Linked DNA regions of Homo sapiens: regions 1, 2, 4, 5 and 6 are each linked to region 3. Evidence: promoter capture Hi-C in human tissues and cell types (Jung and others, 2019). All regions are on one chromosome and are shown on one strand. The core of a region is centred on a gene start or on the middle of the fragment in contact, and the rest is flanking DNA. Distances in the headings are between cores, read along the strand shown.

Region 1 (4,146 bases), core at 1,442-3,941, 260 kb after region 3:
AGATCAAGACTCTGACTCAGAAAAAAAAAAAAAAGCCGGGCACGGTCACTCACGCTTGTAATCCCAGCACTTTGGGAGGCCGAACCACTGCGGCCGGCCCCATCTCTTTTTTTAAAAAAGGATATCAACATTATGGATTCATTCATTTATTCAACAGAAATTTATTGGTTCTTGGAAATGTTCCACTTTCCCAACCACTTGGAATACTTTAGTGAACAAAACTGACAAATTCCATGCTCTCCTTAGCCTTACATTTTAATGAAGCAAGACAATAAATTGAAAGCATAATCAGGAGATTATATCTTATATCCTAAGTAGATAAATACTATAGGAATATACATACTTGCATACATATTTATACACATTATCAGACCAGCAGCTTAGGAAGCTTCTGGTGTGGAGGGAACACTTGGCAGGGTAATTTTCTCATGAGTCCTCATATGGCGGTGGTATGTGGATGACTGGCGGTAGCTTGTCTTACAAAAGGGACATGTATAAGGCTTTTCTCCTGTGTGGATTCTCTCATGAGACCGCAGGTTGGTTTTGTGGCTGAAGGACTTTTTACACATGCTGCATGTGAAAGGCTTCTTTCCTGTGTGAATTATCTGATGCACCCGTAGGTCTGATATCTGGAAGAAGCCTTTTTGACACTCGGGACAAACAAATGGCCTCTCATTCCTGTGTCTTCTCTGGTGAGCTAATAAGTGACAGAGATACTTAAAGACCTTGGGGCATTCTTCACATTTGTATGATTTTTGGACTCCATGGGATCCTTTCTGATGTACCTCACATGTGGAATTTCCCTCATTGCTCTGGTGGGTAAGGGCAGACTCAGGGGAGGACTGCTCTGGTTGAGAGATACACCCTGCTCCCATCACCATAGGGACACCTTGGAAAGTGATTCCATTTATGGACCCTTCCTGAGATCTAGCAGTGACTAGCTCTGCTCTTTTTGAGTTGTATGGGTTGTCAGAAGAAACACCTCCCTCTTCAGGCCTAGGACCGTTCTCTTCCTGGATGATGATTAGGGAAACTATTTGATTGCCTTGATTAGTAATATTTTCATTTACTCGAGTAGTTTTCGAAGAACTGTTCCAGCCATCTTGTTCATCTTCATATCCTGTGAAAATAGACACTCAATGAAGTTGTACTTAAGAAGGGGTCCACATAGAACACTCCTCAGTTGTGCAGATTCACCTGACTTACCTTGTCCTGTTTCTAAGGAAGTATCTTGGGAAGTCTGGGAGGGTGTCCCCATGTTTGCTTCTCTTGTGGTTTGGGCATTCACTTGTTTTGTGAGATGAACAATGACATCTCTTAAGGGCATATCCTCAGAAAAGAGAGCTTCCTGTCCCTGCATGTGGACGTGGACCTGTAAAGAAAGCCAGATCACTGTTGTATCTGAATCTGTTGTGTAACAGAAGACTTTTTGGAAAAGTGGTCCTTAACAGGCTCTCACAAGCTCCCTCAAGTATTGGCTATCACATATTTTGTCCACCATCTCTGATGGTGTTATTCTTGTTACTACAAGCTCTTATGTTTAATAAAGTCACATGGACATTGAATTTACAAGTACTGAATCATTTCCCCTAGGAAAAATTCAGGGTTAGTTTCCTGTGAGCTTCTGGCTACATTATTTTTGTCAACTGATCAATACATGAGTTTGTTTTATGTGTGTATATGTTCAAAGACACCCCATTTAATATATATTATTGATTAATCCTGAACTCAGAGGATCCAACACATGTATTATCTCCATAATACATAGCAACTTTCCTGCACTTAGGAAGACTAGACAGTGTTTCAGCATTTTACTTCAGTGTCACTTTAAACAACAAAGTTATCAATAAAAAGCAAAAAAAAAAATGTGCCACTAAATAGACTGTGAAAAGGACACTTATTTACACTGTAGGAACCAAAATAGGAAGTGAGGTTGTGGCCTTGTTCAACCTCACCTGGAAACATGCACCTAAGGTAAATCAAATATTTTACCACCTGCACATATCTGAAAATGACGGAGAAGATGCCTCAGGTATTTATTTTAAGCTTACAAATAAATTTTAGCAATTTTGCAAATATGGGCTCTGAGAATAAGGATCTACCGTAATTGCTTCTTTAGAATGTCTTTCTTGATTAGAGTTCCCTGACAGAAGAACAAGCTCTTGTCAAGACATTTCTTCCTCAACCTTGATGTCTTCATTTAAATGTCAATTTCAGGCTGGTCTCACACCTGTAATCCTAGCACTTTGGGAGGCCAAGGCAGGCGGATCACTTGAGGCCAGGAGTTCGAGACCGCCTGGCCAACATGGTGGAACGCTGTCTCTATTAAAAATACAAAAATTAGCCGGCCTTGGTGGAGCACGCCTGTAATCCCAGCTACTCTGGAGGCTGAGCCACGAGAATGACTTGTGCCTGGGAGGCATAGGTTGCAGTGAGCTGATATCATGCCAAAAAGTCAATTTCTCAGAGTCTGCCATTATGCAGACTAAAATTAAGTTAATCAAACATCAATATGTTTGGCTCCTATATGTCCTACAGAATAAACAGATATATACCTTTTTGCTTTTTTTCTTGAGAACTTAGGACATTGAAGATTATTCTTTGTGAGAATGGTGGGAGAGTGTGAGCTGACTAATAACTGGACCTCCAATAGCTTCTCTAACTTCCAGACAACTCTAACTGACTGTGATTTATTCCTTACTTTCCTTTGTCTCTCATCCCAGAAGTTAGAACCCTGTACTCACTAAGGCAGGTGGATTTATGCTGTCATCAGTCAGGTCTTCTATGAATCTCTCCAAGTTTTTGCCACTTGATTTCCATTTCTCTTTCACACTGGCTTTGTCATTGCAGTGGCCACCAATCATAAACTGCTCCAGGACTAATAGAGAAATAATTTCATCCTTGCTGTGCTTTTCTGGTTGCAGCCATGAGTGAAAGATCCTATAAAGTCTTTGCAATTCCTGCCTTGCATATGAATTATTGCTGTCTTGAAATGAATTGAGCACCATTCTTGAGAACTCAGAAATCCCTTCTTCTCTCTGAACAGCAGGTCCTTGGCTTTGTTGAAACGCTGAATTTTCTGATCCAAGATTATTCTCGGATGGTTCACACTGAAATATGGTTCTTAGATCTAAAGCCATTCTTAGCAATAATTCTCAGAGAGACTTTACTTTGATGATTCAGTCTCTTGCCTTGTGTCTCTAGGGATTTGTTTCAACAGTTGGTGGATTCTTTAAAACTGCAAGCTAGAAATAGAAAAGAGATGAGTAATTAATTGCACCACTGGCATAATTAAAGACAAATCAACCAAAAAGTTAGGCCTACATGGCTCTATGGATGAATTCAAAGAAATAATTATAACTTAACATAAACTCTCCCAGAGCATATAAGAGGAAGCACTACCCACTTTAGTTACTGAGGTCAGCACTTCCTGATAACAAAATTTTACAAATACATTAAAATTATCCAAAACAAAATATTTGAAAATAAAATCTACTCACATATACATCGCAAATGGTGTTCATTTCCAAAATGCAGGAAGTTTGGGTTAAAATTCAAAAATCAATGCAATTTACTTCGTTAACGGGATATGGATACAAGAACATAATAAAATCATCTCAATGAATGCATTTAAAATGTTTAAATGCCAATGTTTATTCCTGAAAAAGGCACTTAATAAACTAGAACTATTAGGAAATATCCTTGGCTGGGCACAGTGGCTCACTCCTATAATCCCAGAACTGTGGGAGGCCGAGGAGGGCGGATCACTTGAGGTCAGGAGTTCGAGACTAGCCTGGCCAACATGGTGAGGCACCATCTCTACTAAAAATACAAAACTTGCCGGGTGTGGTTGCTCATGCCTGTAATCCCAACACTTTGGGAGGCTGAGGCAGGTGGATCACCTGAGGTCAGGATTTCGAGACCAGCCTGACCAATATGGTGAAACCCCATCTCTACTAAAAATACAAAAATCAGCCAGGCATGATGGCATGCACCTGTAGTCCTAGCTACTCAGGAGGCTGAGATGGGAGAATTGCTTGAGCCCGGGAGGTGGAGATTGCAGTGAGTCAAGATTGCGCCACTGCACTCCAGCCTGGCTGACAGAGCAAGACTCCGTCTCAAAAAAAAAAAAAAAAAAAAAAAAGC
Region 2 (4,348 bases), core at 212-2,711, 300 kb after region 3:
CTAGCATAATAGGGATTGATGAAACCATGAACAGTCTCAATTTGGAAGACTCAAAATCCATGTCCCCATACATTCTCCTCCCAAGATCCCCAAGTCAGAAGAGACACCAGACCTTGGTGTCATTGATCCCTGCTGTCTCTTCACATTCCCATTAGTCACTGTGTTCATTCTGTTTTCCACTCTGTATCCTGTCAACACTTGGGTTAGATAAATCTCCCTCCTCTGATCCCAAACTCCAACTTCCTCACAATAGATGCCAAACTTCACAGAAATAAAGGAAACCTGCAGTTCCCTGAACCAGCTCAGCCTCACCTCCAAGGAGTTCCAAAAGCTGGTACCTACCTGTTTCTATCATAAATTTTCACCCATCTTTCCATTGGCTGCTCCAAATGGAAACATTGGCCTGGACTCAGGGCCCTTAGCTCAGGGATTCTCCAGGGTTCCCAAACCAAACGCTGAGAGAATGGTAGGTGAGTCCCATGACACCACAAATCTAAAGAAAATATCTGTCTGGGGAGGGTGGAGGGACATTCCAGACCAGTGAGGGGCTGAGATACCTCCACTTACCTGTGTAAGTTTGAAAAGCACCTCTGTAGCTATGGGAACCTGTGGAAAGACGCAGGCCTCAGAGGAATGTGATCATGGCAGTGCTCCATGGGCACAGGCCTTCCCTGTACCCTTGCCCCGGCCCAGAGCCACGTAACTTTGGGTCGACTGTCTAACCTGTGCGCCTCGGTCCTTAGTGCTGCCTCTCACCAGTTGTGTGGCCTTGGAAAAATATTCAACCTCCCTCTGCCTCAACGTCCTCATCCATCTCTAAAGTCTTTTCTTCCACTGAACAGCCTGCAGAGGATTTTTCAAATTTAACTCAGATGGTGTCTCTCGTTTGCGCAAGCTCTCTATGGCTCCCACGGCCCTAAGAATAAAGGTAGATCTCTCTCAAACTTTGTTCCCTGCAGTAACAATGTGGAGCCCAGGTTCCTGAATGCCCCCTTCTCGGTTGCCCGTCCAAGCCCTGCACGCGCCGGTCCTGTCCCTTGTCCCCCTGCCCACCACATCGGATGTCAGAAATAGGGGCCCCACCCACGAGCCTCAGTGTCCCCGACCCTGTGCTACAGAGACGTGAGCTGGTGCCTCTCACTTGGGACTTAAGAATCTCGGCCGGGGGAGGCCCGGAGATCGCAGCGCTCACCGAAGCCGGGTCCCTCAGTGCGGTCGCCATCCGAGTCTGTGGGCGGAGCTGGACCGGGAGCTGCGGGCGACCCGGGGGGAACCCGAGCATCGCTATCCCCAGGCCGGCCTCGCGGGCGGCTCTGCCCCCGACCCTCAGACCTGACTCTCGCGCCTTCACGGTCCGTCACTTCGATCCCGATGCAGCGTACCAAAGCGGCTGACAGACAGAACGGACCTCCGGGAGGGCAGCCAAAATGACCGCTGCGAAGACGCCACAAGTCCCGCCCTGGGGGGGGCGGGGGTAGACCCACACGGAAATGCCCCTGTCTTGGATTTTCATTGGATCAAAGTACTGCCGCTCGACGCAAGGCTTTCTGGGTAATGTAGTCTCCCCCAGGCTGCGACGGAGGGCGCCTTGTGTGCAGACAGCTGGGAGCGCTAGGAAGCTGCGTCTGCTGCCTTCCAGGGCGACTGAGGGGCTTCGGTGTTTGAGGTCTTAAGTAGGTTGACACTTGAACAACACAGGTTTGAGCTGTGCGGGTCCATTTACACGTAGGCGTTTTTTTTCCCCAATAAACGTTACTTCGAGTGTGCTCCTTTTCCTGCCTCTTCCAGCTCCCCGACCTCTTGCCCCAGAGACAGCAAGACCTCATTCTCTTGCCCAGCATGAAGAACACAAGGATGAAGACCTTTATGATGATCCACTTCCACTTAATGATTAGTAAATGTATTTTCCCTTCCGTATTCTTTTATTTTCCTTTTTTTAATTGGGTGTAATGTCAACGAGCCTCTTACAATTTTCCTGATACCCTTTCTCTGGTCTGTTTTAGTACAAGTATAGTTCTTATACTAAAATATATATAATGCATATATCATACAAAATGCATATATCATATATATTATGCATATATCATGCATATATCATACAAAATGTGTTAATCGACTGGGAGTTTATGTAATTCATAAGGCTTCCGGGCAACTTCATAAGGCTTCCGGGCAACAGTTGGCTATTAGTAGTTAAGACCTAGGGGAGTCAAAAGTAATACAAGCATTTTCAATTCCGCAGGGGTCGGTATCCCTGACCCCTGCGTCGTTTAAGGGTCAGCTGTATATCAGTCTCTAGTGTAGAGGTTCACTTCAGTATTTAGACATCATTTCAGATTCCATGCAGCCCACCCCAGCAGATCTCCACTGGTAGTGGGAAGCGAAAAAACGTTATCTTATTGCTCTTCAAATGCATGCAGCCTGAAGTGTTAAAGTCACTTTTTGTAGGTTTTGTCAGGGACAAAAGACACCAGACAGGGCTACAATGGGAAGATAGTGGAGGGATAGTGGGCAGCCCTGAAGCCAACGGACAAGGGAAGTTCCCTGCTTCTGGTGCCCCCAGAAAACGCTCTCCTGCCTGCAAAGTCAGTTTTGTTCATAAAACATGAAGCTTTAATACATGAATGTTCATTTTCCTTGTATAATCAAAACATTTAATTTTTTTTTGAGACAGGGTCTCACTCTGTTGTCCAGGCTGGAGTACAGTGGAACAATCATAGCTCATTGCAGCCTCCACTTCCTGGGCTCAAGTGATCCTCCCACCTCAGCCTCTTGAGTAGCTGGCACTACAAGCACACCACCACACCCGGCTAGTTAAAAAAAAAATTATTGTAGGAATGGAGTCTCCCTATAGGGCCCAGGCTAGTCTCAAACTCCTAGGGCCATGCAATCTTCTTGCCTCAGCCTCCCAAACTGCTGAGATTACAAGCATGAGTCACCATGCCCAGACAAAAGTTTTTAATGCATAAAATATCAAATTATTATCATTATTTTAAACAGGGCCTCACTCCGTCGCCCAGAAAGTTTATATTATTTTAAGGTACATATATGCACATTGTTAAATGTACACATATACATTTTATATATATTAGATAGATCAAATTTTACGTTTCACAATAAAAATGATCCTTTAGGACAAATTAATACCAGTAAAATAAAATAAAATTAAAAGTTGTGAAATGATTTTATCAAATATATAATGTATTTGTTTACACATTTACTACAAAAATTTATAAGTGGAATGACTACTATTGTACATCTGGTTAGATCTCACAATGGGCTTGTCATTGTTTTTAGGAAAAAGGTTAGAGTTCTTGGCTGGGCCTATATTACAGAACCAACCATTACATATTGCTTCACCTCCTACCATGTATCTCCTCTATATCCTACACATGCTGAATTTCCTCAGATCCCTGAAAGCTGTGTGTGCATTCACATGCAGGGATCTTTCCAGGTTACCTTTTTCCTACCTGAGACTGCTGAATCCTATTGTGCTTTAAAAATTCATACTTTCAGGTAATCAACTGAGAAACTAGTGAAAAATGACATAACTGGCTGGGCACAGTGGCTCACACCTGTAATCCCAGCAGGTGTGATTGCTGCTCCCACCTTGGGAGGCCGAGGTGGGCGAATCACCTAAGGTCAGGAGTTCAAGACCAGCCTGGCCAACATGGTGAAACCCCGTCTCCATTAAAAATTCCAAAATTAGTCGGGCGTGGTGGTGGCACCTGTAATCCCAGTTACTCGGGAGGCCGAGGCAGGAGAATCAGAATCACTTGAACCTGGGAAGTGAAGGTTGCAGTGAGTCGAGATCGTACCACTGCACTCCAGCCTGGGTGACAGAGCAAGACTCCAAAAAAAAAAAAAAAAAAAGGACACAACTCTTTATGTCCAAATTCAATGTTTCCATCCATTGCACGTACTCAAAACTTCCCAGTACTCCTCATGAGGTAATGAAGCATAGGTTAAGTAAGTTTTGTATAATTGTGTAAATTTTTCAGGGCCGGGCTTGGTGGCTCATGCCTGTAATCCCAGCACTTTGGGAGGCTGAGGCAGGCAGATCACAAGGTCAAGAGATCAAGACCATCCTGGCCAACATGGTGAAACCCTGTCTCTACTAAAAAATACAAAAATTACCTGGGCGTGGTGGCGCATGCCTGTAGTCCCAGCTACTTGGGAGGCTGAGGCAGGAGAATCGCTTGAACCCAGGAGGTGGAGGTTGCAGTAAGCCGAGATCATGCCACGACACTCCAGCCTAGTGACAGTGTGAGACTCCGTCTCAAAAAAAAAAAAAAGAAAAAAAAGAAACATCTTAATTAAAAAACGAAATGGGCAAAGACTTTAGGTTTAG
Region 3 (4,412 bases), core at 187-2,686:
TAAGTTTCTGTAACTGGCATTTCACCTGTTTTTCTGGTATCATATTAGTTCCTCATGCAGAACACTCCCCGCTGTCACAAGAGAAACAAATGATAATCACTTCCCAGGAAAGATAACAAGCTCGATAATTTAACATACGCCTAGTGTCTCCAGGTGGAGATTATCACCACCATTACCAATACCAAGCTGAGATTTCTCTTTCATTGTTCTTTACCTGAGACTGACTTCAAGTTCCTAAAATGAGTTGAAAATATAAGTTAGAATACCAAGTAAGGGATATTACATGAATAAATGTTTTGCTGAATGAATTGGACACAATAATTGACTATATAAGCAGGAGAGTTGTTTTTCCATGGGAACGACTGATTGACCTTTGTACTCTTTCTTTAGCCTCTCCTCTATCTTCCTTGGCATGGTCCTATCTGGATTAGTTCTCTTTTGTCCCTGGCAGACTGAAAAACCAACTCTAATGCCTCAGAGTGAGGCAGGAGAATAGGGAATTAGGGTAACCAAGAATGAAGGCATAAGCAAAAGAACAGCAGGTGCAGCTAGTTCTAGGCAAGATGAGGCAGCACACAGGCCACGTCCTCACTCCTGTGGTAACAAGACAGAAGTCTCCACTTCAGCCTCTGATTGGTTGTGCACCAGTCCTTCATAGGATTGGAGGCCTTTAAAGAACTCTTGGGGTATTATAAAATTCTAGCTTATTCATGGCAAAAACCGCAATTACTTTTGCACCAACCTAATAAAACCCTAAAAAACATTGTAATCGGGGTTCTTGAGCCGCTTGGTCGCCTGCTCCCACACCTACATTCCACTTCTGTGGAGTGTACTTTCCCCTCAATAAATCTGCGCTTTCATTGGTCCGTTCTTTCGTTGCTTTTTTTGTGTGTTTTGTTCACTTCTTTGTTCAATGCGCCAACAACTGGACAACTCACAGCCAAGACATTCTATCCGGTAACAAGAGTGCATTCATGTGAATTATAACAGAGTAATGTTTATCAGCCTCTGCTTCCAGTGCAAGCATTCTGTGTCTAAACGATTGTATAAAGTGATACACGAATTTGGATTTGTAGCCTTTGGGGGCCTTCACAGTATTTTTAGCGCCTGGGAGCTTGAATTTACAGAAATGTGAATTAATATTTTTGCAAACACTTAGGTGGTCAGTTACAAACAGGGATTCCCCAGGAATCTCAATATGGCCTCTAAGGAGGGGCGAGACCATCCTCTGCCCTAAAAGGGTACGCGCTTTAATGAACCCCCTGAGGTAGGGCTGGGACTTCCCTGCAGAAGCGCCTTTGGGAAGCGGCAGCTTTACTACCTTGGAACCTGGGGAACTACATTACCCAGAAAGCTCTACATTGAATGACAGCGCAACAGAACCAGTAAGGGCTCAGAATAAAGGCGTTTCTGTGTGCGCACGTAACGTAGTGGCGGGATTCTCAGCGTTCTCTGGTAGCGACCATTTTGGTTAATGTTGGGTGTGTTTCTGCGGTTTGTGAGGTGAGAGGCGCTGGAGCTATGGGTCCGAACCGCGGTGTCTGAACCCAGAAGGTGAAGAGTCCTTCTTGCTGCACAGAGGCAGATCTTAGGCCCCGTAACGGCGCCCGCCGCTCCCGGCAGTGCTTTCCCCGCGTACTCGGGATGGCGGCGGCCGCGCTGAGGCTCCCGGCTCAGGTAATTGTGCCTTCCCTGCCCTCAGGTCACCTCATCCTAACCCGAATCCTGAAGCAGCGAGAGAGCGGCGACTGTTCACAGGTCTGCAGCCCGGACCCGGCGTCGGGACACTGAGGCGTTCGCGGGAGAGGTCCTTGTTTCTGACACCTGTGGGATGCGGTGGGGAGAGCGACAGGCACAGGGACCGGCGCGGGCTATGGCCTGGAGGACAGACCCGGGAGGATGGAACCTGGGGTCCACAGGCGCCTGTAGGGAACAACGTGTGAGGCGAAGCTTCTCCTGGAAGAGCAGGCTGGGGGCTGTGTATTCGCTGTGAAGACGCTAGAAGCCATGGAGAGTTTCGAAGAAAGGAGGGATGCGATCCAAGTCCAGGCTTTTAAGGTTTCCCAAAGGCCAAAGGAAGAACATAGTAGAGGAGATGAGGACCTTAGGGTTCTGGGAGGTTGACTCCTTTGTTGATAGATCACATAGGTGGTAGAGATGACATTTTGCACTGAGACACGCAGGTCAACCAGTCTGAGGTCACCTGGCTCCAGCGATAAGAAAAGGTTCAAGGAGACCTGAGCTTATCAGATCCCCTTTGTAACGTCTGCTTTCCCCTCAGACACTCCTGGCTACAAAAGCACGTAAAGAACCCACTGAGGGGGTCGGGCAAGGTGGCTCCCACCTGTAATCCCAGCACTTTGGGAGGCCGAGGCGGGCGGATCACCTGAGGTCGGGAGTTCGAGACCAGCCTGACCAACATGGAGAAACCCCGTCTCTAACAAAAATACAAAATTAGCCAGGCGTGGTGATGCCGCATGACTGTAATCCCAGCTACTCAGAGGCTAAGGCAGGAGAATTGCTTGAACTCGGGAGGCAGAGGTTGCGGTGAGCCATTGCACTCCGGCCTGGGCAACAAGAGCGAAACTCTGGCTCAAAAAAAGGAACCCACAGAGGGAATTAGAGGGTGTTCCATTCCCTCACTGGCCTTATTCCCCATTCACATGTTCTCTAGCTTGTGATGTCCTGGGACTCTTACTTGCCATTTTTTCAGTCCTTTGATCTGAGAACACTGGAGAAACCCTAAACCCAGAATCCTAAGTCCATGACACAGGATGTATGGAGGTATTCCCATTTCTGTCAACCCATGTAAACATACTTTGAAGGTTAACTACAGAGTTGGTACCAGGTCATGAAATGCTTAGAGGTAAAAATTCGGTGGGGAGGCAAGAGGGCGGCGAGGAGGTGATGTTACCACAGTCCCATTTGTCTGCAGGCATCATCTGGCTGCAAAGAAGAGAACACACTGTGTTTGAGGGAGGAGGAAGGAGGATCAGAGTTTAAACTCCTGCCATAATGCAGGTGAGGGTTACTGGACCATATTAATGAGTAAGGAGCTGTGGCTGGATTCAAGATTCACAGTTTGTAAAATGGCAACTAGATTTTCCTTTTTTTTTTGAGCGGGAGTCTCGCTCTATCGCCCAGGCTGGAGTGCAGTGGCACGATCTTGGCTCATTGCAAGCTCTGCCTCCCGGGTTCACGCCATTCTCCTGCCTCAACCTCCCGAGTAGCTGGGACTACAGGCGCCCGTCACCATGCTCAGCTAATTTTTTGGATTTTTTAGTAGAGACGGTTTCACTGTGTTAGCCAGGATAGTCTCAATCTCCTGACCTCGTGATCCATCGGCCTCGGCCTCCCAAAGTGCTGGGATTACAGGCATGAGCCACCAAGCCCGGCCATGCCCGGCTAATTTTTAATATTTTTAGTAGAGATGGGGTTTCACCGTGTTAGCCAGATGGTCTTGATCTCCTGACCTCGTGATCTACCCGTCTCGGCCTCCCAAAGTGCTGGGATTACAGGCGTGAGCCACCAAGCCCGGTCGGTAACTAGATTTTCTAATAGACTGTGAGGGCATGAAAGGGGAATCAGGTATGACCACCAGGTTTTTGGTCTTAGCATCTGCAGTGATGGAAGCTGCATCAACTGAGATGAGCACATAGTAGGTATAATATTCATTGGGGATGTGAAGAATGTTGTTTTGACCATGTTAAGAGTCTGAGATAGTTTAGCCTCCATTATGACATTGACACACTTCAAATTTTCATGGTAAATCTTTTGTGGGGGCCAGGAAGGGGTGGTTGCAGGCTGAGGGCTGAATTTCTTGCTTGGGTCCCTGGCTGACATTGCCACAGGAGAAGGAGGCAAGGGCTCATGAAGATAGGGTATGTCAGACAACATGGTTTGTCAGGGGGCATAGGCTTTCCAAGGGTAGAATAGATAAGAGATGTAAGCAGAAGCATAGAAATAATTGAAGGAAGATGACACTTGGGCCAAGGCTGGTACTTATTCACCACTCTGTGGACTCACCAAGATTTTGAGAAAACTTTGTTGGTGCTTGGGGGTTTTCATTCGGCCTGGTGGATACATGCTCAGGGTAAATTTGGTTATCTGTGACAGACATTGGGCCTGGGGTGGACAGCTGATGGGCTGGGATTTTATTTATTTTTTTCTTTTGTTTTCCACTTTTCTTAGACCATTCTCCATAACAAGGGAGTGGGATTTAAATGACTCTAGGTGGACAGAGGAAAGTCGTCATTGTAGAGGGGTCACCAAGTGCAACACAGAAGTGGAATAGGGCCATGGATATCTAAAGCCCCACCTGGTTCTGTGGGGATGTGGAGCCATGCAAGAAGGCCTTCATAGAATGACTTGGGACTGCATTGCTATTGGGAGCCATGAGAATTCTGTGGTAA
Region 4 (4,268 bases), core at 543-3,042, 280 kb after region 3:
CCTTCCTCCTAGGCCCAGATCTGAGGATCACTCATTTGCATTTTGCCACTTGAGTTTTACCATTTCTAGATTTTTATCTGAAAGAAATTTTACTCTGTATAGACCTCTGAGTTTGGTTCCTTCACTTGTGCTTTTGAGATTCAGATTAATGTTTTTTTCCCTCCTTGACATTTATGAGGAATATTCTATTTATAAATGTAACACAGTTACCCATTCAGATGTGCATAGACATTTGTTTTTGTTTTCCAGTCTTTAGCTTTGAAGAAAATTGTTGATAACACGCAAAATCAGTTGGCTTTCTATATCCATGGGTTCTGCATCTATAGATTCAACCCACTGCAAATTGAATATTTGGAAGAAAAATTGCATCTGTACTGAACATGCACAGACCTTTTTTGGGTCATTACTCCCTAAACAATACAACTATTGTGTAGCAGCTATTTAAACAGCATTTACACTGTATTAGGTGACAATGTATAGCAACTATTTAAACAGCATTTGCATTGTATTAGGTATTATAAGTAATTTAAATTATAATTTAAATTATGTGGGAGGATATACACAGGTTATATGCAAATACCACATCATATTATATAAGAGACTAGAACATCTTCAGGTTTTGGTATCCTTGGGGGTCCTGGAATCAGTCCCCCATGGATACTGAGGAATGATTATACAAGTATTTCTATGGACACGTTTCCATCTCTTGAGGTTATACTTAGGAATGAGATTAATTTATCAAATGATAAGTGGACAACTAACTTTAATAACGGCTACAGTGTTTTCCAAATTTATTTATTTTGCATTTCCACCAGCAATGTATGAGAGCTCCAGTTTATTTCATACCTTCAACAGCTAGGTGTGATCATTCGGTTAATGTTACTCATCAAAATGAGTATGTAGTGGTATCTCATTGTGGTTTTCATTTGTAGTTCCTTAAATAGTAATAATTCTGAACTTATTTTCATGCATTTATATACCATTCATATATCATCTTTAGTGAAAAATGTGTTCAAATATTTTGCCTTTTTTTTTTTTTTGACATGGAGTCTAGCTCTGTTGCAGACAGACGGAGGGCAGACGGAGTTTCACTCTTGTTGCCCAGGCTGGAGTACAGTGGCGCGATCTCAGCTGACTGCAACCTCTGCCTCCCGGGTTCAAGCAATTCTCCTGCCTCAGCCTCTTGAGTAGCTGGGATTACAGGTGCCTGCCACCACTCCTGGACACTCCCGGATAATTTTTGTATTTTTACTAGAGACGAGGTTTCACCATGTTGGCCAGGCTGATGTTGAACTCCTGTCCTCAAGTGATCCGCCTTCCTCAGCCCCCCAAAGCGTTGGAATTACAGCTATGATATCTCACCCTGTTGCCCAGGCTGGAGTGCAGTGATTTGATCATAGCTCACTGAAGCTTCGACCTCCCTGGAATCAGTGATCCTTCCATCTCAGCCTCCCAAGTAGCTGGGGCCACAGGCACACACCACCATGCCCAGCTTATTAGCTAATTTTTGTAGAAACAGTGTTTTGCCATGTTGCCCAGGCTGGTCTTGAACTTTTGCCTATTTTTAAATTGTGTTGTTTATGCTATTTGTAGGGATGTTTTACGTATTCTGAATACTCATCATTTATTAGATAGAGGTTTCACAAATATTTTTCCCAGGCTGTAGTTGGCCCTTTCCTTTTTTTACAGGGGGTATATGGGTGAAGTCAACTTGCCAGTCCTGTTCTGGGAAATGGCCTCATGCCTGATGAGTGGAGAAAGGAGGTGGTTTAAGAGCCCCTTCAGGGGAAGTCTGACCACAAACTGGGCAGACTGGTTAAACATTCAAGGTTGGTTGTCATGGTGGTGGAGTGTGTGTAAGTTTTTAAAAACTGGGGTATGTGGTAATAACCAGCATGGAAGTGGTTGTGGATGTGGGAGGGAATAGAGAGTTCTTGAGATTTGGGCAGGATGAGTTTGTGTCAAGATAACATCAGCCTTCCCTTTGGGTAGCCCCAGTGTTAGTTTGACTTGTTCCTCCTGGGTGTATGAGGGATGTCTGCTGGGAAAATGGACAACAGTGATGGGATGTTGTGGGCCACCTGCCAGGCTGCTGAGTCTGCCATAATGTTTCCCTTGGTTATGGCATCTGTAGCTCTCTGGTGTCCATTGCAATGGATAATGGTGGCCTCTAATGGTAGTTTAGCTACCTCCAGCAACCTGTGTATCAGTTTGCCATTTACTATGCAGGTCCCTTTGGTACTAAGAAAAGCTCTTTCCTGTGAGATTAAGGCTTGGGAGTGTAGAATGTGGTATGCATACTTACAGTTAGTGTAAATATTGACCCTTTTTCCTATTGCTAGGGTGAGGGCCCTAGTTAGGTCGACTAATTCTGCCTGTTAGGAGGTGGTAGGGGATGCGACAGTATTGGACTCTAGGAGCTTGTGTTTGGCAACGATGGTGTAGCCTGCTGCAAGACATGGCTCTTTAAAGGAGCTCCCATCAATGAACCATGTAGGTGTCCCCTGTAAGGGGGTCTCTGATATGTGTCGGAAAGGGAAGGAAAGGGAATCTAAAAAGTCCAAGCAGGAGTGACAGAGTTCAGAGTCAAAGGTCCTTATAGGGAAGAGGGTGGCTGGGTTGAGAACTTTACATCTTTGGTAGGTGATTAGAAGGTTGTTTATGTAGGAGGTGTGTGTTTGTTGTAAGTAAGATAGCAGGAGGGAAAGAAGGGAGCAATGACTCATGAGTTCCTGTAGGTTATGAGAAGGTGCAATGGTAATGTATTGATAGAGGGTGAGTTTTTGAGCTTCTGAGGCCAGCAGCATAGACACACATAAGATCCTTAAACAGGGTGGCCAACCTTAGATGACTGAGTTCAGTTGTTTTGAGAGATATACAATGGCTTGTGGGGTACCGCTGAATGTTTGACAGAGTAGCCCAAGAACAAGGCCTTGGTTAGAATGAACATACAGAGTAAAGGGCTTGTTGGGGTTGGGTAGTCCCAGTGCTGGCGACATTGAAAGGGCATTTTTCAGTTTTTTGAACTGGGAGTCAATGGTACAGACTGGATCCAGGTGTTCTAGGATGGGCCCACGTGATGTGGTGTACAGCAGCTTGGTCAGCAAGTTGGGAATCCATAGCCAGAAGTATCCCACAAGGCTCAAGAAGGAAAGGAGGTTCTTTGTATGAGAAAGGGGCATATCCCGGATTAGCTTCTTCCATTGGGTTGGTATGGCCTGAATATTAGGGATTAGGATAAGTCCAAGGTAGGTAACCTGGGGTTGGGTTACTTGAGCCTTTGTGAGTGAGACCTAATATCCCCAAGAATGGAGAAAGTTTAGAAGCTGAATGATGTGTTGGATGGATAGATAGGTTAAGGGAGGGGCTACAGAGAAGGGTGTTATTGATGTATTGGAGGAGGGTGCTAGGAGCAAGGGGAAGTTTAGCCAGGTCCCTGGTGAGGGCCTGTCCAAATAAGCAGGGGCTATTCCAGCCCCCCTGTGGGAATATAGTCCATGTTAGCTGTGCGGATGTGTGAGTATCAGGATCTGTCCAGGTGAAAGCAAAAAGGCTTTGGGAGGCTGGATCCAAGGGGATGGTGAAAAAAGGTGTCCTTCAAGTCCAATACAGATAAATGAGTGGTGGAGGTGGGGGGATATGGGAAAGTAAAGTGTAGGGATTGGGGGCCACCAGATGGATGGGCACCACTGCCTGGTTAATAAATAAAAAATCCAGGTAGTTGGACCCATCAGCTTTCCAGATGGCCAGGATAGGGGTGTTGTGGAGAGATTTAACAGGCTTGAGAATTTGGGCTTGCAGGAATTTCCAACGAATGAGTTTGAGGTCTCTGAGGCCAGCTGGGCTAAGGAGGTACTGGGCTGACAAAGGAATGTAGAAGGGTTTTGAAAGGTTATTTTGTCTGGGGTGTGGTATGCTGCTATTGTTGGCTTGGAAACATCGCAAACCTTGGGGTTGACAGAGGCTAGCAAATTGGATAAGGAAGATGAGGGAGAGGAGAGGGAAGTGTCCAGTTGACAGAGTAAAATAAAAGGGGTAGAATGACAGGGGGTAAATTCTATGGAAAACTGGAATTGATTAATATATTCAGTCCCAAAATAGGGGTGGGACATTGAGGGATGACCAGGAATGAGTGGGTGAAGCAAGTGTTGACTAGGTTACATAATAGGGGGCCAGTCTGTTTATGTTTAGAGGGTATTCCATCAACTCCTAAAATAGTGATGGAAGAACTGAGGAGAGGTCCAGAATATTCTGGTAGAACTGAGTAT
Region 5 (4,072 bases), core at 1,440-3,939, 290 kb before region 3:
ACATGTGAGACCCCATTTATAAAAAAATAAATAATAAAGACATGAATTAAAACACACCGGGGCCTATGATCTCAGCTTCCTTCCCTAGCAAATGCCCCAGGCCTTCCTACCTTTCAAAATCCACTGACCACTCAGGCTGTACTTCCTACAGGCCAGGCACTGTACCCTGTCCTCTGCCTGAATTCATGCATTTGATCTTCCTTGTAACCCCACAAAGACAATTAACAGAATTTACCCTGCTTTCTAAATGAGGAAACCAAGGCAGAAAGAACTTGAGTAAAATTTAACTGAGGCCTCGTGGCTGGGGAGTGAGAAGGTGGGAGCTCCATAGCTCATGGCCCTAAGCACACTACCACTCAGGCTCCCAGCCTCCCCGTCTGGTACACCCCACCCCAGCCCAGCCCAATGCCCCTGTTCTTTTTCTTAACATCCTTGGCCTGAGGCCCACCTCTTGGCCTCTCTGATCTGTTTGTTCTGTGCAATCTGCCTATGCCCTTGACTGCCCTCTCTGCCCAACCCTGCTAGTTTCTGAGTTCTGGGTGGTATAGGAGTTCAGGAACACCAGTATCCACTCAGTCACTATCCCCTTACAGCTGCGAGCTCATGCTCTCACACCCTACTTCAGTCCCCTCCCACCACTGTCCTCTCTGTGCAGACAAATCGGCCTTTTAATTCACTCCAAGGGATGACTCTGGACTCTTTCAACCTCCTGGCACACAAACTCCTGCAGGCCTGCACTCATTAGTAGCTCCCTTCAAATTCTGAGCTGAGATGTCTTCTCCCTGGTCAAGATGAATCCATATCCCAGTGCCCCACCCCCTGCCTCTTCTCCTCTCAGGTGAGGCCTGAACAGAGTGACCAACACTCTCAGTTTCCCCCTCCTCATCTTGCCCATCCTGCTCTGCTCTCTCACTCCCAAACACACACACAAACACAAATGTAGACCACATCCAAGAGGTCTGCCCAATATCTTATGTGTTACTATCTTGTCCTGATGCTCCTGGCCTTCCCTGGGGAATCTCTCACTGCCTGTGTCCATCTTTGCTCTCTAACCCTGTCCTTCCTTGTCTGGAGGCATCCAAGGGCAACGGCTGAGAACACTCACTTTGCAACCTGCTGTCAAAGTACTGGCTCCATTACCTGCCACTGTAGGACTCTGAACGGGTCTCTTTAACCTCTCCAGGCCTCAGTTTCCTCATCCGTAGACATCTGGAAAAACAGCAAGACCTGCCTTGTGAGGATGCTAAAAGAATTAATTGAGTTGCATTTACAGAGCTTAACATTGTGTTAACCTGCAAAAGGGGCACAACACATGTATTCATAGTGATTATACTTGGACATAAAATTCCCCATCTGTTCCTCATACTGGACCTGTATGGTGGCTGATCTGGCAGAAGTCCCTCTGGCTGCAGGGCTGGGGAGGGAGTTGCTTTCTCTTTCCTTTTCCAGTTTTCTCCTTCCCTGCTTGTGGGGTGACGTTTCCAATCTGCTCCAGGTTACGTGTCCAGCCCAAACCTCCTGGGCTTCCTGCCACTGCCATTCCCTCCTCCACATTCAGCCATGTCACCCACATGCTCCTCAACTCCCATGCAGAGACTGACCAGGCATACCACATCTTCCTTGCACTGTGACTTCTACCCTGGCTCCACGCTGGAAACAGAAACACAGTCTTCCTCCACTCCTTCCTGTCTTTTGGCATCCCTCCTTACACGGAGTCATTTCCACAATCAGATGTTTCCCTACTCCCTTAGACTCTTGAAATCCAACCCCATGCCTTCCTCATTAGCACTGCCTTGTACGGTCCCCATCAAATATCACCCAACACAAATGGAACCCCGATCCCTAACTTACAGGCGTTACATACACATCCCATCCTGTTCACCTCTGTAGTCTCTCTATGGGGTGCACCAGCATCGCTTAACCAGTGCAGGCCCCCAACACCCCAGTTACCCCTGCCCTGCGTGGACTGGCCTTAATCTTCTGTTCACTTGGAAAATACACATGTTCTCTGCAAGGTTCAAGCTTCACGTACCATTGGAAGAAAATGTGTCCACGTCTGGAGCTGGGATGACCTCTGGGGTCCAATAGGCGTCACCTGCCTGGTGCCGCTGTGCCAGGAGGCTCTTGGCTGCCACCTGTGGATAAGCCGCAGAAGATGAGTTGAGGGAGGAAAAAGGAGCCGGGAGAGGCCCGCTGGGTCGGCAGCCCCAGAGCTCCAGACGCCAGCCTGAATCCCCCGCCCCTGCAGCCCTCGACCCAGGCACCCTCTGTCGGGAGGGCCCACCCAGTCCCACCCAGTCCCACCCAGTCCCACCCAGTCCCACCCAGTTCCACCCCTGCCCGTACCTGCGAGGTACTATAAGTTCCCTCCCAGCTCTGCAGCAGGAGAGCCTCCCGACAAGCTCAGACCCAGCCGGGCGCTCCTGCAGGGGAAACCTGACTGGACCGGCCTTCCCCGTCCCTGAGGCCGGAGAGATCCCGATCCCATCAGGCCCCTGCCCTTGCTCGGCCTCGCCGCATGAGGGACCCCCGCAGGCCCTGCTCGTTTCTCCGGCACGCCCAGATCACTTGGGGCGGCTCTGGCCTGGTCCTGCGCTCCGGCCGCACCCGGCTAACAGTGAAACCTCCGAGCCAACCTTGAGGCCGCCAGACTCACCTGCACGCACCGGCCAATGGCGGTGCTTCCGGTGGCCGGCGGACGTGCCCGCGCTCCGCGCAACAAACAACTCCCAGAAGGCCGCGCGCCGGTAGCCGTTGCTCCCACAGGCATAGTCATTGCCGGCGGGAGCATGGGGCCCCGCGGCGGCGGGATGAGCTTTTTCCTGTGTTCGCGACTAGCATTGTGGCTTAGGGAGTTGCTTCCCGCGGCTCTGCTCCTTGCAGCGCCTGTCCCCTCCCCCTTAAACGGGCCACGCTGGTTCTCATCCAGCAACCGAAGCCGAGACTGTGGAGGCGGCGGTCGGCGTCCAGGGCGGGACTAGCGCCTATGGGGCTCGGCGCTGTCATCTCGGGTGCCTTCCCGGCGCCTTGCCCTGCTGGGGAGAGAGACCAAGACTGAGCCATGAGAACAGTCCAAGGCCGTTAACCGGGAGCTCAGGGGCAAGGGCGCCCGCCAACATCTGCGCCTGTGGCAGGGACTCAGGGACAGCCTGGGCGTGGGGACGCGTCCTAGTGATAGAAACAAAGCCCCGGGAGTGCCCTGCTTGGAGCATTCCGAGTGGAAGGTGGAAGCACGCTAACTGGAGGCGATTCGTCCTAGGTGATCGCTCAGTCGAGCCTATTTGGCTTTCTGTGGTAGCTCCTAAGTGGGACAGGGAAAAAAATAGGGAGGCTGGCAGTGACCAAGTTCTGTTTTGTACCTATTGCTGCAGAAGTTGTGGGACAGAGTTCTGTTATTATAAATGGTCTGATGTTCAGTCTCAGTGCGTTGTGGGGCTCAATGTCTGAGACCCACCACCGCCTGACCCGTCCTGGCTCTTCAATGAGGGAGACCACAGGAAACTTTCCTACGAAGGCCAGGTAGGCGGGAACCACTGTGGCTCAGGCACCCTCAGCTCCTGGACTGTGCTTTTGTGTCTGGGGTGCATCTGTGACTAGCCTTCCTTGGCTTGACTGTTTTGTAGCTGACCTTGTCGATAGCTTTACCCAACAGTCATCATCTTTTTACTTGCTTATTTTCATACCTGGCTAGCACGACCCTGCAATTTTTAGATTCTTCCGGGAAATCTAGAATCTAACTCCCTAAGGGAGGATCTTGATGGATTCTAAGCTAATCAGAATGGACTCAAGCTTCTTGCTGTGTGAATTAGGCAAGGATATTCTGGCCAAGGAGAAATAAGGCTGCTAGGGGTTTCCTGGGAAGGTTCCCTCAGTCTTTTTTTTTTTTTTTTTTTTTTTTTTTTTTTGTGAGACGGAGTCTCGCTCTGTCCACCAGGCTGGAGTGCAGTGGTACGATCTAGGCCCACGGCACTCTCCGCCTTCCGGGTTCACGCCTTTCTCCTGCCTCAGCCTCCCGAGTAGCTGGGACTACAGGCGCCCGCCACCACGCCCGGCTAATTTTTTGTAATTTTTC
Region 6 (4,164 bases), core at 532-3,031, 310 kb before region 3:
AGGAGGGATCACCTGCTCAATAATTACAATCAAAGTGGAAGGGACCATTTTCAGTACTGGCCATGCCTTCTGGGGTCAAAGTACTAGGATTAGATAGTTGGATACATCTTTCTGGTGTCAAGCCTGTGTTATGTGAAGTCCCAGACCGGGAACCTGAAGCTCCCATCAGCCACTACACCTGTGACTTGTGAAAGACCTGAAGTACCTGTTTAAAAGACAGCCAAAAGATAAGTAAAAGCCTACCAACTTTCCTTGGTGTCTTTGTTGCTTAGTTACTTTAAACTGGATAATAGTAGCCATTGTTATACTTCTACAATTTAATTGCTTTCTTCTAAACAAATGGAATAACTTCCTTTGTAATAATTAAGCAAAGTGTTTTAATTAATTCTTATAACAAGCATTCCTGACAGCATAGGTATCCACCCCTGAAGTTCCTATTCTATAGCACAAAATAACAAATAAGTATTTTTTGGTTCCATAATGGTCACCCACAGCCTGTGTATACAGGACCACGCATAATGGGAATCAGCTTTATTTTACAACAGAGCTTCACTTTACCCCTCCAGCAGTTAATGGATTCTGGGTATTTATTAAAAACTTTACATTTAACTCAAAGACAGTTAAATACCACCAGCCCAGCTCTGGCAAAGACTGTTGGCTTTGGTTATCTCCAGCATCATTCAAATACACTACCACCCCAATCCCAGCCCAATCTTTGGCCTTGGGGAAAAAAACATGAACTACGATGACAGGACAAGCAGTAAACCTTCTCCAGTACTATCAGAGTACCCTTTCTGGGGTTGCATCCCACAGAAACCCATTTGGGGCCCAATATCAATGTACACAGAGCTAAAATTCCAGGTGCCACTTTGTATTAAGAGAAGCCAAAATTTTGGTCAGGCCCTGGGAACCTTGAAAAGTCATCAGTGTAACTACACCCTAGAGATTATTAACCCCTCACATGATTACATAAGCTAGGCAGTTACCCAGACTGTGTCATTTAGAAAACCTGTATGGTTTTCATGGAAACCATCCCTAGATAAGGACACTTCAAAGGATACACAGTCTAAGTACTGCCAAGGTAAGCCCACTAGCTATGATCATATTTTCCCTTGGGAAGACTGCACTAATCCTCAGACATCTAGTTATCTTTTGGTTCCCCAGTACGAAACACCTCTGGATGCTTGTTGGTAGACACTAAGCCTAATTACCTCCAATGGGAAAACAGAACTGCTGGGGCAACTCAGAATATTTCCCAAGGTCCTTTCCAGCCTTTAACTGGGGCCACCTTCATAGGGACCTTAACCACTTGGGAAAGTGAAAACAACAAGCTAACCCACATGTTTACCATAGAAAATTCTTGTCTTGAAAAACTAGGAGCCTTTTACCTGTGTGGAACTAGTTCTTACTTATGTTTACCAGCCAATTGGACTAGAACCTTTACACTTGTTTATTTAGCCTGTGAAATTAATATAGCTCCCAAGAACCAATCCCTCATTATACCTTTAACTGCAATTGCCAGACACAAATGAACCATCCAACTCACATCCCTTTTGGTAGGACTACAAATAACCGCGGGACTGGGAATGGGAGTCAGCCGGGTTGTAACATCCCTATCCTATTACCAATGCTTTTCCAAGGATTTTATGGAAAGCTTGAATGACATTGCCCAAAGTAAAAAAGAAAAAATAGAGACATTGGCCAAAGTATCATCACCATACGAAATCAAATAGATGCCTCAGCAGCAGTTGCTTGGCAAAACAGAAGGGGATGAGATCTCCTAACTGCTGTAAAGGGGGGCTTAGGTCTTTTTCTAGAGGAAGAATGCTGTTTTTATGCCGAACAATGAGGATTAGTAACAAATGCCACCCAAAAACTACCCAACTGGGCCTCTAAAATACAACAACAGCTATCTGAGTCATGGGGCTCCTGGTCAAAAATGCTAAGTTGGGGTTCATGGCTCCTTCCTCTGGCCAGCCCATTAGTAATGACTATACTTGCCTTGGTTTTTGGACCATGTTTGTTAAACTCTTAACCAAATTCATTTCCTGTCACCTAGAGACCATCAAGCTTCAGATGATCATGTGACAATGTTTCCAGCCAGTTCCAGGTGGAGACACCACCCCTGGCCATCAAGAAGCTATCCTGTCTCCACTAGACAGGGCGGGGAGAGAGTCCTGTGATTCCCCAGTACGTAGGGACTGTGCCTCAGGTCAGCATAAAGCAGTTACAGAAGAAAGACTATCAATCCCTTTACCTCCCATAAAGATTTATGAGGATCATGTCTTTCGGGGGGAAATGAGGTATGAGAACAGGGTATGGAGGCAAGAAACCTAAGGGTGATTAATGCTGACTTCCTGGAACTGAATCAAAAGGAAAACCCAAACTTTCCATGCCCCAAATAACAAAAGGATCAGAGGCAACCCCCGCCTTCTGTGTCGCAGATGAAAAATGGAAAGTACCTCTTCCTGCAACCAATGAGACTGGTCACTGGCCTAGTTTTCATCTGCATAGAGGTGTAACTTTGTAACTTCACTTCAGCCTCTGTTGGTCACCTTCCCCAACCAATCAGACTAGTTATGGGCCACTACTTCATTTACAGAGGATATAAACCAAGTAACCAATGGGAAACCTCTCGGGATTTAAACCCCAGAAAATTCTGTAACCAGTGCTCTTGAGCTGCTTGCTCCAGACCACTCCCATTGTGTGGAGTGTACTTTCATTTTGATAAATCTATGCTTTTTTTGCTTCATTCTTTCATTGTTTTATGCATTTTGTCCAATTCTTTGTTCAAAATGCCAAGAACCTGCACATCCTCCACCAGTAACACCAGGGGCTGGGGATGAGGGAGGGATGAATGGGTAGAGCACAGAGAATATTTAGGGTAGTGGAACTACTCTGTCTGATACTATAATGGTGGATACATGACATTGTACATTTGTCCAAATGCACAGAATATACAACATCAGGAGTGAAGCCTGGCCAGGTGCAGTGGCTCATACATGTAATCCCAGCACTTTGGGAGGCTGAGGTGGGAGGATCACTTGAGCCCAGGAGTTCAAGACAAGCCTGGGCAACACAGTGACACTCCATCTCTACAAAAAATTTTTACATTAGCCAGGCATGGTGGTGCATGCTGTGGCACCTGAGGCTGGGGTGCAGAGAGGTGGGAGGATCACTTAAGCCCAGAAGGCTTAAGCTATGACTGCATCACTGTCTCAAAAAAAAAAAAAAAAAAAGAAAAAAAAAAGCATGAACCCTATCATAAACTATGGACTTTGGGTGATAATGATGCCTCAAGGGCAAGGGGTAGTGGCTCACGCCTGTAATCCCAGCACTTTGGGAGGCTGAGGGGGGCGCATCATGAGGTCAGGAGATCGAGACCATCCTGGCCAACATGGTGAAACTCTGACTCTACTAAAAATACAAAAATTAGCTGGGCGTGGTGGTGCGTGCCTGTAGTCCCAGTTAGTTGGGAGGTTGAGGCAGGAAAATCACTTGAACCTGGGGGGCGGAGGTTGCAGTGAGCTGAGATCACACCACTGTACGCCAGCCTGGTGACAGAGTGAGACTCTGTCTGGGAAAAAAAAAAAGGATGCCTCAAGATAGGTTTGCCGATTGTAACAGATGTACAATACAAATCCAAGTTGTTAACAGCAGGAGACACTGCATGTGTCTGTAGGACAGCAGACATGGGTGGGAACTCTGCACTTTCTCGTCAACTTACCTATAAACCTAAAACTGCTCTAAAAAATAAAGTCTATTAGCCTGGGCAACATGATGAAACCCTATCTCCATTAAAAATACAAAAATTAATGGCCAGGTGCAGTGGCTCATACCTGTAATCCCGGCACTTTGGGAGGCTGAGGCAGGTGGATCACCTGAGGTCGGGAGTTCGAGACCAGCCTGACCAACATGGAGAAACCCCACCTCTAATAAAAATACAAAATTAGGGCCAGGCGTGATGGCTCACACCTGTAATCTCAGCACTTTGGGAGGCTGAGGCGGGCGGATCATGAGGTCAGGAGATCAAGACCATCCTGGCTAACACGGTGAAACTCTGTCTCCACTAAAAATACAAAAAATTAGCCGGGCATGGTGGACATGCCTGTAATCCCAGCTACTTGGGAGGCTGAGGCAGGAGAATCACTTGAACCTGGGAGG

Evidence for each region. Contacts are between HindIII fragments. The study calls those that stand out against the background at their distance.
Region 1: a contact is called between a fragment that was not itself captured here and the fragment with the promoter of ZNF418 in region 3, in 2 of the 25 tissues and cell types used here (IMR-90 fibroblasts and stomach).
Region 2: the fragment with the promoter of ZNF211 here is called in contact with the fragment with the promoter of ZNF418 in region 3 in 3 of the 25 tissues and cell types used here (adrenal gland, liver and mesenchymal stem cells).
Region 4: a fragment that was not itself captured here is called in contact with the fragment with the promoter of ZNF418 in region 3 in 3 of the 25 tissues and cell types used here (adrenal gland, lymphoblastoid cells and stomach).
Region 5: a contact is called between the fragment with the promoter of ZNF544 here and the fragment with the promoter of ZNF418 in region 3, in 1 of the 25 tissues and cell types used here (adrenal gland).
Region 6: a contact is called between a fragment that was not itself captured here and the fragment with the promoter of ZNF418 in region 3, in 2 of the 25 tissues and cell types used here (pancreas and spleen).

The regions. Positions count from the first base shown.
Region 1 is chr19:57,675,140-57,679,285 of GRCh38, reverse strand. ZSCAN4 (zinc finger and SCAN domain containing 4) reads right to left here. Exons shown (of 5, transcript NM_152677.4): 3 at 2,745-3,245; 4 at 1,207-1,372; 5 at 134-1,120. The coding sequence starts at 3,140. The coding sequence ends at 381. Among named protein-coding and RNA genes, the nearest start is that of ZNF551, 4.8 kb to the left of the region's middle. The HindIII fragment of the contact is 5,379 bases long and covers 2-4,146 here.
Region 2 is chr19:57,630,281-57,634,628 of GRCh38, reverse strand. It overlaps ZNF211 (zinc finger protein 211), which reads right to left and starts at 1,461. Exons shown (of 4, transcript NM_006385.5): 1 at 1,193-1,461; 2 at 568-606. The coding sequence starts at 1,282. RefSeq lists a silencer at 1,142-1,211 and enhancers at 1,652-1,701, 1,772-1,861. The HindIII fragment of the contact is 12,794 bases long and covers 454-4,348 here.
Region 3 is chr19:57,932,426-57,936,837 of GRCh38, reverse strand. ZNF418 (zinc finger protein 418) reads left to right here and starts at 1,436. Exons shown (of 6, transcript NM_133460.3): 1 at 1,436-1,677; 2 at 2,936-3,021. The coding sequence starts at 3,016. RefSeq lists enhancers at 1,469-1,558, 1,151-2,033. The HindIII fragment of the contact is 9,006 bases long and covers 1-4,412 here.
Region 4 is chr19:57,654,066-57,658,333 of GRCh38, reverse strand. It overlaps a transcript of ZSCAN4 not described here. Among named protein-coding and RNA genes, the nearest start is that of ZSCAN4, 13 kb to the left of the region's middle. The HindIII fragment of the contact is 8,692 bases long and covers 1-4,268 here.
Region 5 is chr19:58,227,531-58,231,602 of GRCh38, reverse strand. ZNF544 (zinc finger protein 544) reads right to left here and starts at 2,689. Exons shown (of 7, transcript NM_014480.4): 1 at 2,657-2,689; 2 at 2,033-2,135; 3 at 1,141-1,209. RefSeq lists an enhancer at 1,987-2,813. The HindIII fragment of the contact is 3,442 bases long and covers 917-4,072 here.
Region 6 is chr19:58,247,349-58,251,512 of GRCh38, reverse strand. The region is part of intron 6 of ZNF544 (zinc finger protein 544); the gene reads right to left. Among named protein-coding and RNA genes, the nearest start is that of ZNF544, 21 kb to the right of the region's middle. The HindIII fragment of the contact is 5,984 bases long and covers 1-4,164 here.